Regions from separate parts of the Homo sapiens genome. Here all the other regions are linked to region 5. The links are contacts of gene promoters, found by promoter capture Hi-C in blood cells and fetal thymus (Javierre and others, 2016). All regions are on one chromosome and are shown on one strand. Each heading gives the region's core, a stretch centred on a gene start or on the middle of the fragment in contact. The rest is flanking DNA. Distances are from core to core; before and after follow the strand shown. Region 1 has its middle 11 kb from the start of LORICRIN. Region 2 holds the start of SPRR2G (small proline rich protein 2G). Region 3 overlaps PGLYRP3 (peptidoglycan recognition protein 3). Region 4 overlaps LOC101928009 (a long non-coding RNA gene). Region 5 holds the start of SMCP (sperm mitochondria associated cysteine rich protein).

Region 1 (2,700 bases), core at 105-2,604, 370 kb before region 5:
AATGAATGCACTCTTTCACATCTTCCCACATCTAGAATTGTTACTGACCTGGGTATTAGATGTTTTGGCCTGGGTGGGGACAATATTAAGTCTTTGCCCTATTTTCACCTCCCCAACAAGATTGTTTGCTCCTGGAAGGCAGGGATGGCATTGCAGCTCTTAGTAAACCTGGAGTCCGTGGATACACCAGGCAGTGAGTCAGTGTTTGTTTAAAGAAAAAGAAGGAAAGAAAGAATGATGCAGAGAATAGAAAGAGGGAGACAGAAAAGGGAGGTAGGGAGGACAGAGGAGTTGTTTCAAGATTTGTAACAGTGCTGGTTTGAGTCTAGTCAGAATAATATCTCTCCCTACCCCACTCTGGGCTCTGTGATCAAATTCTGGCAACTCCAAGAAATTATAAGGCCTGTTTGGCTCCAAAAGGGAGAGATAATAGAGATTATAGCATACTAGAAGTTTTAAAGTGGATGTCAGCACAGGTTTTTGGATTATTGGTATTATTGCATTATCAACATGACTGTGATGTTGATGCATGATTAAATTATTCATGGTGTATAATTGCTCTCAGTGATTAATTAGGACATTTTACTCCACATAATCCCTGCTGGATCCTATATGGATTGCAGAAGAGTTACGTAAAGCGAAGTGTGCTTTCTGCTAGTGAGTTAAAAAGCCTCCTTATTCTGATAGCTATACATTAAAATAGAAAATATATTTCTTTTAATGTGTACACAGTAAGCACTTCAGATTTATTTTATGGGTATCATTGCTTAGGATGAGGTAAAAGAAGGTAACACCGTGGTAGTATATCTTCAAAAATAAATCTGGTTAAGTAAAAATTGTGAGTTCATCCAGAGAAAAGTGTTGAATAAATAATCATACAAGTGGTTCATGAATATGGGAAAAACTACCAAGGAGGTATGTGAATTACTGAGGTTTAGGAAACACTAGGTTAAAAGCACGGGTCCTGCTTCTTCCCTTTGGAGAGTTCCACATGTCCTCCTGGAAAATGAACACTTGTGGTGCAGGAGTTCTGCCCCCACATTCACCTAAGGGTAGGGGGAGGGTTCGCAAGTGTGAGAGTGGGTCTGTCTCCCTGCTGAAACACAGCGTTGGAACTGTGGGCCACTCTAGACTCAGGAGCTGGCCCAGAGCATTGTCTTTGGACGCAGCCAGAGGCACCCTGTGAAGCAGGCAGTGTGTCCTTGGAGCCCCTCATCCTAGGGGTTAATATCCTCCCCACCCAGGCCAAAGCGTCTAATATCTAGGTCAGTAACAATTCCAGAAGTAGGCAGATGTGGAAGAGTTTATTTGTTCATCCATTCATTCTACCAGCATTTGCTGTGGGCTGGGCTAGGCATTGCACTGGCTGCTTGAGATGCAAGCAGCTGAGACATCTCAGCTCTCCCAGGCTGAGATCTCAGAGGAACCCAGAAAATTAAAGACCCTGAGAAACTGAAATTCAAGCTGATTTATTTAGCTTTCATGATAGAAGGGGGAGGCTGTTGTGACTTCCTTCAGCAGGGGATGCCTGAGCCTCTGTCATTCTGCTACTAGCTCATTATTGAAATTGTTCCTGGGTCTTGGTGAGACTTTGGTGACTGAATTGATGTCAGAGGATCTGAGGCGGAATCTTGGTTATATCATTTGCCAGCTGTGACACTGCAAGTGTGCCGCTTAGCCTTTCTGATCCTATATCTTCATGTGTAAAATATCTTTGATTTGCCTATGTTTTGAGGATGCTGTGCAGATTAAACAAGATCTATTATATGGGAAAGCCATTGGAAAACAGTCAGTATTTGATTAAACACTGCTAGTTGAACTCAAGGAAAGATTGTACAATTCATTTAAATTAGAGTGTGGGCATCTGATTTAAAGTGGGTCTTCTCTATTCAGGGAGTGATAGGTTAAAAGAGTCAGAATTATAATGGAAAGGATGAAGCTCAGTGATAAAGTGTCAGGTGTCAATGAGGGAGAAGGGGTGGGGAGTGCATAGAGGAACTATTTCAGGGGCAGATTTTCTCTCGTGGGTTTGCCTTCATGGTTGATATTGGATTGGGGGGTCTGGCTAGCTTTGCCCCTTTTGTTCAGTTCTCTCCCAAGTTCTTCTCTGAGTCAGTCACTCGGTACTTAATACTATTACTAGCAGTGATAACTACCATTTATTGAGCACATCCTATGTTCCAGGTGCTATGTTGGGTGTTTCTCCATGTTGGAACCTCACCACATTCTGTAGCACTGTTATCCACATATCATAGATAACAAAAGTGAGGTGTGAGGAGCACAAATAACCTGCCAAGGTCACACGGTCAAAAGCAACTGAGCCAGGACTACAGTTGGATTTGTCTGACTCCAAAGCCCATGTTTTCCACAATCCTGCTGTCCGGTGTGATACAATTCTGTGTCAACATCAGCATCAGCAAATATTTTCTGAGAGCTGTCTAGTTGTCACACATTGCTCTAGACAGAGACAAAACAGACAAAAAATTCCCTGCCTTTGTGGAACACACATTCTAGCTCAATGGGACAAGGACTAGGTTTCGTGCAATGTTGGGCAGCTCAGTTTCCTCAGCTATACAGTGAGTGGACTGGGCTAGCTGATCTCCATGTTTCTTCTAGCTTTGATAGGACTGTAACCTTCATGAGGAAAGGACTGGATGTTTCTAATTGCTCACAGTTCCTTGCACAAAAATACTGGCAGCC
Region 2 (2,700 bases), core at 140-2,639, 270 kb before region 5:
GGGAAAGGATCTTCACTAGATAGGCCTCACTCTAAACAATGCCATTCTTTATTATCTGTTTTTGACATGTTTGAAATTATTGGTTAGTTATGATTAGTTATTATTCTTATTTCTTCTACATTTTAGAGTTTATATTTCTTAGAAGACCCACTATGTAATGTGCATAATTTTAGGCCACTCTTTGAGTTTTTGTAGGAGACTTTTGTGGTAGGTGTATTTTTTATTTCTGTTTTACAGCTGTGTAAACTGTGTTTCAAGGAGGTTAGGAAATATTTAGTTCCACACAGTAGTGGTGGCTGTAGATGTATGCATAACCAAGGTACTCAAGTTTTTTCCAAGTTGGGACAGTGAGTAATACTAGCTGAAGTGTTAATATGGTTAAATAAGCTATACTAAGAAATTATCCGTGGGATCTGTGCCAGCTATACTTTACTTATTTAGGTAAAAACATCCATGAAGTAAACAGCAGGATAAATAGCTTTACAGAACTTCACTCCTCGAATGTGCAAAGAAAGCCTGAAATCCTACTAAATGTCATTTCAAAAGAGAGAAATTGTGAAGGAGTAAATTGAATTAGCATGTAGGAGAAAAGCTTCAAAATGGATGCAGCACATACATTAAGGCAGTTTGGAAGAAAATGGGAGAAGATGAGTTTGGATTTCTAGTAGACCACAAGTCACTCATAGTTACAAGGGCCACAGAGATGAGGTTAGTGTGTAAATCTGCAAATGTGAAGCTTTAAGAAGGGGCCCCAACATGACTCTAATGGCCTAGAAAACTGAGAGATGATGTTGCCTTGTTCAAGCCCATTAATACCATGTCAGAACACACCCAGGTTGGGGCTGTCAGCATCTAGGAAGCTGATATATGATTTTGTCACCCTGTTCAAGTCAATTAATTGTCAAGAAAAGCCTAAGGATCAATAGGCCATGATAAAAGGGGAAGTTAGTTGTAAAGAAAAACTGCAGTTGAGGGTTAGGATATAGCCAGGCTGCAGGATCAGCACATACTGGTCTCTACTAAAGAGAACACAGCTAGATACTGGGCATGTGCAACTGAATGGGAGTAGTTTTACATACAGGATACTTTGGAAGCTGGGAAGTAGGAGAAGCACCATCTCTAATTATAGGGAAGCACCACAATTGTCAGACAATTTGTCACGTTCTACAATTGCCACTGGCATGAGGAACCTGAGATAATGTCCCAAGTGAATCACTGTGCACTTATCCTGCTGGGGAGGATCATGGACTAGGAATTTTGTGATACCAGCATGGATTACATGCAAGTGGTATTTTGGTTGGGAAATAAGCACATCATGCTAGTCCTGGGCTGTTCCCTGTGTAGGGCTGCCTGCCCCTTATAAAAGGACTCTCCACCACACTGATGCTATCTTCTTGCCATTCAGTTGTAGATCTTTGAAGACTCTGGTGAGTACAAATATTAGAAGCTTTTCTTGCACTTGGATGGTGTTAGGGTCTAACCTGGGTACAGAAATGCCTGTTTATTTTAACCAATTTATCCTCATGGATAGGAAAAAGAAGATAATGAGGTCTTGAAGGTAAATTTTAGCTGGTATTTGGTAGATAAACATGAAGGTGATGAGGAACCTGGAGTCAAATATATAAAATCTTAAACTGAAGGAGAGTGAGAGACACAAGATGCTGTTCTGTCTCCTGCTTCACATCTGTTCCAAATACATCTCTCTTGGAGTGCAATCTCCTTGGGTGATGGGTGCAAGTTTTTGCAATTCTCTTAAAAAACTCATGGCTCAGCACCACAGCCAGCTCATTAAAACTGGTAACTAGGGCCTCATGGAAGATAAGAGCACAGATTTGTTTGGTATTGGCTAGACTTTTAATATCTGAGTTTTTCTTCTTCAGATAGTGTTTGTATTCAGACAACATTTGTTGCTGTCTCATAGGCAATTTTATTTTCAGAAAATGGTAGAATGAGAGAACAGCCAGAAAGACGGAAGAACTGAGGGTAAGAGGTCCTAAAAGTGAAGTGTGAAGAAGGTTCACAAAGTCATAAAGACTGTATTAGGGATCAAAGTTGGTCCCTAGATACTGGAGATTTGATGTCCTAGCTAATTGCTCCACCAACAGGACTGTCTCTCTTATGAGCACTGTTTCGTATGTATCTTTCAGATTCTCTGAGACTGAGGAGAGATGTCTTACCAGCAGCAGCAGTGCAAGCAGCCCTGCCAGCCACCTCCTGTGTGCCCCACGCCAAAGTGCCCAGAGCCATGTCCACCCCCGAAGTGCCCTGAGCCTTACCTGCCTCCTCCTTGTCCACCTGAGCATTGCCCACCTCCACCATGCCAGGATAAATGCCCTCCTGTGCAACCATACCCACCCTGCCAGCAGAAGTATCCACCCAAGAGCAAGTAACATCACTAGAATTCATCAGGACCATGAAACAACAAGATCCAGTGGCTCTTCTTACTCCCAGGACTCCATCATCTTCCCTTCAGCTGTAGTGGGAGGCTGCATCTTCCCTAACCTCTGTCTGGCTTGAGCGTTGACAGAGAAAAGGCTTAGTTCTGAAAACCGATATGTTGTTGGAAGATGAGCAGCCAGATCACTGCCTAATCTCGCTTTGCTGTCTGTGATGTAGATGGTGGTTCCTATCCTGAGAGCAAGTGTGTTTATTCTTTTGCTTCTCCCCAATAAAGCACATGTTTCATGGTCAAGCCCACAT
Region 3 (2,700 bases), core at 167-2,666, 420 kb before region 5:
AAACCTGTTGCAATATCCTTCTGCTCCAGCCTCATGATATGTCACCTGTAACCCTGATATGGACTGTAATCAGGACAAAGCACCCACTCACACATTATTTTCTAGTTTTTTAATCAATAGTTATTGGATAGCTACTATATGCCTGGTGCTAGACGAGATATATCAATCTAACAACAAACAGAGAGAGATTCTCCAAAGATGATTAATTTGGCCAGGCACGGTGGCTCATGCCTATAATCTCAGCATTTTAGGAGGCCGAGGCGGAAGGATTGCTTGAGGTCAGGAGTTTGAGATCAGCCTGGGCAACATAGGGAGACCCCATCTCTTCAAAAAAATAAAATAATTAGCTGGGTGTGGTGACATGTATACCTGTAGTCAGTCCCAACTACTTGGAAGGCTGAAACGGAGGATCGCTTGAGCCTAGTAGTTTGAGGCTGCAGTGAGTCATGGTTGTGCCACTGCCCTTCAGCCTGAGCAACAGAGTGAGACCCTGTCTGAAAAAGACAAAAACAAAAGCAAGAGAATAAAGATAAGTATTTTATTTGAGAGTGTAAAGGGAATTTGCAAATCTGGGATATGCATGCTACAGGAACCACAGGCATATCCAAAGAGGTTCAGGCTAGGGGAAGCTTTTAAAGGCAAAAGGCAAAAGTTTGTTTTGAAATAAAGGGAACACTGGAGAACATTGGAACTTATCGCGGGAGGTGACACCAGTTCATTAGTGGAGACAGTGTGCTGGGCAAGTGTTCTTCATCAGCCAGATGTCCTTGTGACTAGTAACAAGCTGCAGTTTTGAAAGTTTTTGGCAAAAGTTCTTGTTACAGGCTTGTGTGCGTAAGAGTCCTTCAGAGAGTCTTTGTGCTAGTTCTTATTGTAGGCTTGTGTGCATGAGGGTCCACCCTTTTCAACCTCCTGGCTTTATTTATTTTTGTTAGAGTTTGACACAAGTGACTCCATTTTGATTCTGACAACTTTCACTGATAGATATGAGAGAAGGAGGGCTAACAAGTAACTACAAGTCAAAGTGTTTGAGCACTGTGATGGATGCAGAACAGGATAATGTATATGATGAGTCTCTAATCAAGGCTTTGTGGGGGGTGATTGGGGTCTGAGAATGGCTTCTAGAGGGAGGAGTATCCTCATTGGGACATGGATAAGCAGTGGGGTTTATTCAGGCAAAGAAGGAGGAAGAGTGTCTGGGTGAGGAGGAACAGTATTTGCCAGGGCCCGGGGTTCAGACAGAGCATTACAAATAGATTTGAAAGAGAGGAGTGGTGAGTAGTAAGGGTGGGAAAGCCTGGGAGGGGCCACATCACGGAGGGCCTCATAGCAGACTCAGAGAGACTGACTCAATTTGAAAGGCAGCTGCAGACTATTTGGGAGGTCATGCTCTATGATAGGATTTGTATTTTAGAAAAATCACTCTGGGTGCTACTTTAAGAATGGGTTGGAAGGAGGCAAAACTCTGGGCAGGAAGCTATTGCAGTGATCCAGTGACTTGCAGTGGGATCGTGGCAGTTGGTCTAGAAAGAAGTGGAGGAATTTAGAAGCTGTGTAGGAGATACAATTGACAAGCCATGATTGGTGACCAGGTGGGCTGAGTGAGGGGGTAGAAGGCATTCAGGGTGTTGTCCAATTTTCTAGCTGGATAAATTTTAGAAGAAGGTGGGTTTGCTTGGACTGTTTTTACAGGTAGTACTTGAAGCTGTGGCAATGATTGTCCAGGGTGAATACGTTGAGTGAGAGAATGGCCTAGACTAGAGTGCGGAGGAGCACCATGTTTGAGGAAGGTAAGGTGGGGTGGGAGAGGGGCCTGAGGGAGCAGCAGGAGGAGGAGAACAAGGAGGGTTGTGGTTGTGGAAGCCCGGGGAAGGGAACATTTTAAGAGAGTGGTCAACAGGGTCAGTGTAGTCTAGAAGTAAAGTAAGTGTCCATTGTACTTAGTGCCAGGAAGCCACTGCTCACCTTGGAGGGGTCAGATTTAGTGGTGTGATGGGAACAAAGGCCAGGTTGAAGTGGACTGTGGTATTTTTTTGTTTTGTTTTGTTTTCTGTCCTTGTCCACATTGGCACATAAGAGATCTCCAGTCAATATTGGATGAATGGATGAAAGAATGAATGAGTGGTTGAAGGAGTGAATGAAGTATTTAAATTCTGTTTCCCAGAGTGACTGTCTTCATTTTCTTTTCCTGACCTAAGCTTCCTGGTGGGCCAGGATGGTGGCGTGTATGAAGGGGTTGGATGGCACATCCAAGGCTCTCACACTTATGGATTCAACGATATTGCCCTAGGAATTGCCTTCATCGGCTACTTTGTAGGTAAGGGGTGAGCATGGGGTAGAGGGGTGCTGGGGGTTGAAGGACCATGCAGCATGTCTGGGAAGCATGGCGGGAAAGGCAGCCCTGTAGTGCCTGGCAGTGTGAATGGAACATTTTAGCTTTAAAGTGGACTCTTAATACAGGATGTCACCAGGATCCCCTTTCAGACAGAGCATTTACCCCCAAATCCACCCATCCCCATGCCCAGCTCCACCTTGCTTTATATCCAAGGCAAACATGGAGCAAGGGGGGAAACGTCTTTTGCAAACTTCAGTGCTTTTATCGCTCAGTTGGCAAATGTGTCCCCTTTCTTGTTAGCCATGGCAACAATTTGGGGAGCACCACTGCCTGTTATGGAAAACCAGTGGGCGGCCCAGTGGTGC
Region 4 (2,700 bases), core at 116-2,615, 300 kb before region 5:
TTATGTACCCATAGAAAATAAAAATATATTACACAACCAAAAACAAACAAACAAAATTCTAAACTCTGGGAGAATGTCTTCAGATCTTGTCAATAGGAAAGATTCCTTAATCAGGTAATAAAAAGCATACCAATAAGGTGGAAAAATGACAAATTGGATTTCATTAAAATTAAAAATTTCTGATTATCAAAAACACCACCAAGATTGCAAAATGCCAAGCCACAGAGATGGAGAAGCTGTATGTAATATCTATATTTAACAAAGGGCTTGTTCCCAGAACATATATACACATGTGTTCCTACTCACAGATCAACAAAAAAACAAGAAATGAGCAAATAGAAAAATATCTGAACAACCTGAACAGGCAATTCATGAAAGGGCATTTCTGTATTTCCAATAAACATATAATAAAGAGTTTAATCTCACCATTCATAAGAGAAATGCAAATTCAAGTCACAACGTGTTATCTCCACATAGCCACCGAAATGGCTAACACGAAAAAAGATAGACAATACCAAGTTTAGACAGAGTGTGGAGCAATTGAAACTTTCACACACTGCTGATGGGAATAATAGATGGTAGAAAGAATTTGGAAAAGTTAACAGTATTCACTAGAGCTGAGCATATCCCTATCCTCTGACCCAGTCATTATATTTTCCTAGGTATGTACCTAACAGAAGTGTGTACATATAGTCACAAAAGGACAAATACGTAAATATTCACATTAGCACTATTTTTAAAAATTCCAAATTGGAAACTACTAAAATACCTTTTAGCAATAAAATGGATGCATAAATGGTAGTATATTCTCATAGAGAAATACCATACAGCAATGAGAATCAACGATCTATATCTACAAACCAGAAAATGAATCAGTATCACAAACACAATTTTGGGGAAAAAAAATCCAGGCACCAAAGAGTTCATACTGTATGATTCCCTTTATATACAGTTCAGAACATGAAGAACAAATGTACAGTGTTAGATGCCAGGAAAAAGTTAATGTTTGGGGGCTGGTAGTGACTCGGACTGCTTTTGAGAACCTGCTTCCCAGGTGGACTGCTTCTGAGATGCTGGTAACATGTTATTTCTTCATTTGTGCATTGGTTGCATGGTTGTTTAGCTTATGAAGCTTTATTAAGTTGTATACCTGTACTTGGTGAGCTTTTATTAATTTATACTTCAATTTTAGTCAGTTAAAAGGTTACTTTAAAGGGAAGGAAGCCACCAGAATGCCAATATTCCTGCAACTTAGTGAACAAGGAAAGAAAGATATGATGAAGTCAGCATAAGAGTCAGTGCCACAGCATGAAGTGCTTTGTAGGACAGTAAGGTCTTCAGACTTTTCTCTAGATACAATGGCAAGATATTTGATCATTTCAATTAGGGAGGACATAATCTTCTCTATATTTTATATGATTGCTGTGGTTGTTCTGATATGGGATTGCTGTGGCACAAGATAGGAATACGGAGACAAGATAGAAATCAGGACACAAGATAGGAAACTTCTGCAGTGGTTCAGGTGAGGGTGATGGTGGCTCTAATTAGGGTAAGAACATTGAAGATAATGAGAAGATGAGAAGTGATAATAAGCTTAAGGCAGAACTTGGGATCTAGGAAGAAGTAGTATGTGGGAGGTGAGGAAAAGAGGAATAAGAGATGAATCCTAGGTCTTAAAAATTATTATTATGACTACTATCATTATTTCAAACATTATTATCCTTATTTAGTTTGTGGCATGAGTACCTTCACACACACGATGATATTGTATATTTAAAAATGAAACCATTTCACAAATGATAGGCGTGACATTGTTATATTTAAAATGAGTGGATATTATAAACAACTTCATATTGAATTCTACAACTTAGATGAAAAGCACAAATTCCTTGAAAATAAAAAACTAACACATAAATGAAAACTTGACAGCCCTGTGATGGTCTTTTGACGTGTCAGCTTGGCTGCATGACAGTCCCTAGTTACTCAATCAAATACTAATCTAGGTGTTGCTGTGAAGGTAGATGTGATTAAAGTCCATTATGAATTGACTCTAAGTAAGGGAGAAAATCCTAGTTTATACAGGCTGGTCTGATTCAATCAGTTGAAAGGCTTTAAAAGCCAAGCTAAATCTTCCCTGAAGAAATTATATGTGTGGATTACAGCTTCAGCCTATGACAGAGTTCCAGCTTACCCTCTTGATGTCCTGACTTCTGGATTTTAGACTTGCCTAGCTGCCTTTGCAATCACATAAATTGAGTCCTTGTAGTAAATCTCTGAAGTACATTTCCAACTGGTTCTGTTCCTCTCATTGTACCCTGACTGAGACAATCTCTAAAATTATTACAGAAATAAAACCCATAGTTTAAAACCTTCCCATATAGAATGCCCCAGGTCCAAAAGGATTAACTGGTGAATTATACCACACACTTAAGAAATAAAAATTTCAATCATACATAATTTCTTTCATAAAACAGAGAAAGAGGGAATATTCACCAAGTCTTTTTCAGGTTAACGTAGCCCTGATATTGAAACTTGACAAGGACATTAAATGAAAAGAAAGTTACAGATCGTTATTCCTCAGGAGCATAGAAGCAAAAATCCTTAAGAAAATATCAGTAAATTGAGTCTAGCAATATATTAAGAGGATTTGTCACAGAATGCAAGGTTTATTTAATATTATAAATGTAATTCACCAAATTA
Region 5 (2,700 bases), core at 7-2,506:
CCTGCCTCCTGGACCCCTCTGCCTCCTGCAAGAGTTTCTTCTTAAGATTCTCTCCTTGGCCGGGCACAATGGCTCACACCTGTTGTCCCAGCGCTTTGGGAGGCTGGGACGGGTGAATCACTTGAGGTCAGGAGTTTGAGACCAGCCTGGCCAACATGGCAAAACTCCATCTCTACTGAAAATACAAAAATTAGCTGGGTGTGGTGGCGTGCACCTGTAATACCAGCTACTTGGGAAGCTGAGGCAGGAGAATCACTTGAATCCGGGAGGTAGAAGTTACAGTGAGCCGAGACCTCACCACTGCACTCCAGCCTGGGTGACAGAGTGAGACTCCATCTCAATAAATAAATAAAAAGAAACAAACAAATAAATAAATATTCTCTCCAAGCTCCATTTCCCTTCCTTCCCAACCATGCTGTGCACAGCCTGCCTCAGGAAATCTGCCTAATCATGTCAAACACTTGTGGTGCAAGGCCAGGGCCATCTTCCTAGCTCTTATTGCTCTATTCAGAGAGGATTGATACAGAGCCCAAACCACCAGGAGGGCTCTGGCAAGGCACCTTCTCCCTCTGCCCACAGGCCCAGCCTCATGTCCAAACACTGTTCCCTCAGGCACCAGACTGGCTCAGAGCAGACACCTGCTGAATTTTCTCACCTCTTTCCAGGTCTTTGAATGTGCTCTTTCCCAGCTTAAACCACCCTTCCTGGGTCTCTGTCCCCACATGCTCACTGAATATCGTTCAAACCTGAAGTCTCTGCTTACACATCACTCCTCGAGGAAAACTTCCTTAACCCAAAACCTCCATCTCCCTGAAAGGCTTTCTTGGATCCCCTGTACTTCCCATTACATTTTTATAGTGGTTATTATTTTCCCAATTGTCTCACTTTTGTGGTCTGTTAGTTCCATAAACACAGGCATTCTCACTATCCCCACCCCCAGTGGCTCCCATGTCTTCCTCTTAAATAGAAGCAGGAGCTTTTTCCTGAAAGATAGGATGAATCCTGGAATCCTCTCATCCAACACACTGAATGGCATTGCATGGGTCTCAGTAGGTAAATACGTAATGAACTAATGAACACATGAAAAAGCCATGGAGAGAGGACCCAAAAGACAATGTTTCTCTGTGTTACCTGGTCTGGCCACACACACAATTCACAATTTCCATGCTTGACTTCTCATGACTGATTCCAGTAGGTATTATTGATCTTCCTCAGCAGCCTAGTGAGTCCATGACTATCAGAAGCCAAAGCCTTCTGAACCAGATGGGTTCCCTTCCCTGCTAATGCCAAGATTCTAAGCCTCTATGACACCATAATTCTCTCCACAAGACTCTATGCCTAGCTCACTCACTGGCGCCCCCTGCCTGCTGGAGAGTCTGTCTCTTTGGTTTCTTTCCTGAAAGATAAAAAGAAAGCTCCCTAGCTAACCCATAAGCATGCAATAACCTAAAACACAAATCTGTATTGATTGTCTCCTATCTACCAGGCTCTGTCCTAAAAAGTGAAGTGTAGCTCAATGGGATGTAGTTCCCATTCTCAAAGATCTAATTCAATATGGAGGCAAGTCAATAGCCAACAATACCATGTGATAATAATGATGGTAGGATAAGCACAGGGGTCAGGTTTGGGGGTCAGATATGCTTCCTGGAGGGAGTGATATTTAAGCTGAGACTTGGAAATTGGAAATAGGAAGTTGGACATAGGGGTGTGTCTGGGAGGACATTTTCAGATCCAGAAATGTGAAAGTATAGGCTATTTGGTGGAAAAGCTCAGTGTGGCTGGAGCAGAGTGGGGAGTAAGGAGAAGGGGGAGATTCACCTACCTAGGTAGGTAAGGCTGTGTTGGTGAGGACCTTTATGCCATAAGAAAAAGAGTTTGGACTTTATCCTGAGGACAATGGGAACCACTGAAAGGTTTTAAACAGGGGAGAAACTGGGATGCCTTAGGGGCCAGGACCCTATTTTATTCACTTTGATATTCCCAGTGTCTGGCTGAGCAATTGGCACATAAAAGATTCTGAAACTGAATCAATTGAATAGTGAATTGACTAAAATAATGATAAGAGAGAAGCATTTCATTATGTTTACTCTTTCCTTTTCTTCCTGTAGCATGGCCTCTTTGAGGACAGTGACTAGGAAATTCTGTTCTTCTGGGAAGCATGCCTGCCATAAACATTTGTAGGACACCAGGCAAGAGCACAAACAGAGGCTTCTGACCCCTGTGGTTCACCCCTGGTTCTCTTCCTACTCCCTGGCTTCATCTTGTGTCACGAGGGACCTCGGGCGTGCATGAGTGTAAATATCCTAGTCCATACCGTCCATGTTCTTTTCATACATGGATCTCTCAAACTGCCCCTCTCTTGGTCATTGAGACCTAGAAGTGAGCACAGTATTGGCTGTTTGAGTCTTCAAGAGGATAGACACATAAAGGTGATCTCAGGGCCAGTTGACAGAGATTTCTGGGGTCCTGGATAGCTGGAGTGAGAGAGACAGCAGCTCTGGGCCTGTACCCTGGACCTATTGAATCATCCTATGGGGGTGGGTCATGGCTGGAGGAGAGCCAGAGAAGGACTCTTTAAAGTCTGAAGTCCAGGACAGAACCACCTCGGCCAAAGGGTAGCACTCTTGGGAAGTATGTGAATTGTGCTTTTCATTCTATAATAGCCTATTCAAGTATTTCTCTTTTACTTGTCTTCTTCAG

What was found. Contacts are between HindIII fragments. The CHiCAGO score rates a contact against its expected background, and 5 or more counts as called.
Region 1: a fragment that was not itself captured here is called in contact with the fragment with the promoter of SMCP in region 5 in 1 of 17 cell types (M2 macrophages); the score reaches 5.3 in M2 macrophages.
Region 2: the fragment with the promoter of SPRR2G here is called in contact with the fragment with the promoter of SMCP in region 5 in 6 of 17 cell types (M2 macrophages, M1 macrophages, endothelial precursors and 3 more); the score reaches 8.1 in M2 macrophages.
Region 3: a fragment that was not itself captured here is called in contact with the fragment with the promoter of SMCP in region 5 in 2 of 17 cell types (M0 macrophages and M2 macrophages); the score reaches 6.2 in M0 macrophages.
Region 4: a fragment that was not itself captured here is called in contact with the fragment with the promoter of SMCP in region 5 in 3 of 17 cell types (endothelial precursors, M2 macrophages and erythroblasts); the score reaches 7.2 in endothelial precursors.

Annotation. Positions count from the first base shown.
Region 1 is chr1:153,247,098-153,249,797 of GRCh38, reverse strand. No RefSeq gene overlaps it. Among named protein-coding and RNA genes, the nearest start is that of LORICRIN, 11 kb to the left of the region's middle. The HindIII fragment of the contact is 3,114 bases long and covers 1-2,700 here.
Region 2 is chr1:153,149,579-153,152,278 of GRCh38, reverse strand. SPRR2G (small proline rich protein 2G) reads left to right here and starts at 1,389. Exons shown (of 2, transcript NM_001014291.4): 1 at 1,389-1,427; 2 at 2,148-2,697. The coding sequence starts at 2,169. The coding sequence ends at 2,390. The HindIII fragment of the contact is 711 bases long and covers 739-1,449 here.
Region 3 is chr1:153,298,730-153,301,429 of GRCh38, reverse strand. PGLYRP3 (peptidoglycan recognition protein 3) reads left to right here. Exons shown (of 8, transcript NM_052891.3): 7 at 2,199-2,317. Among named protein-coding and RNA genes, the nearest start is that of PGLYRP3, 13 kb to the left of the region's middle. The HindIII fragment of the contact is 1,569 bases long and covers 632-2,200 here.
Region 4 is chr1:153,178,592-153,181,291 of GRCh38, reverse strand. All of the region lies in intron 2 of LOC101928009 (a long non-coding RNA gene), which reads right to left. It also overlaps a transcript of SPRR2G not described here. Among named protein-coding and RNA genes, the nearest start is that of LELP1, 23 kb to the left of the region's middle. The HindIII fragment of the contact is 461 bases long and covers 1,135-1,595 here.
Region 5 is chr1:152,876,878-152,879,577 of GRCh38, reverse strand. SMCP (sperm mitochondria associated cysteine rich protein) reads right to left here and starts at 1,256. Exons shown (of 2, transcript NM_030663.3): 1 at 1,132-1,256. The HindIII fragment of the contact is 18,030 bases long and covers 1-2,700 here.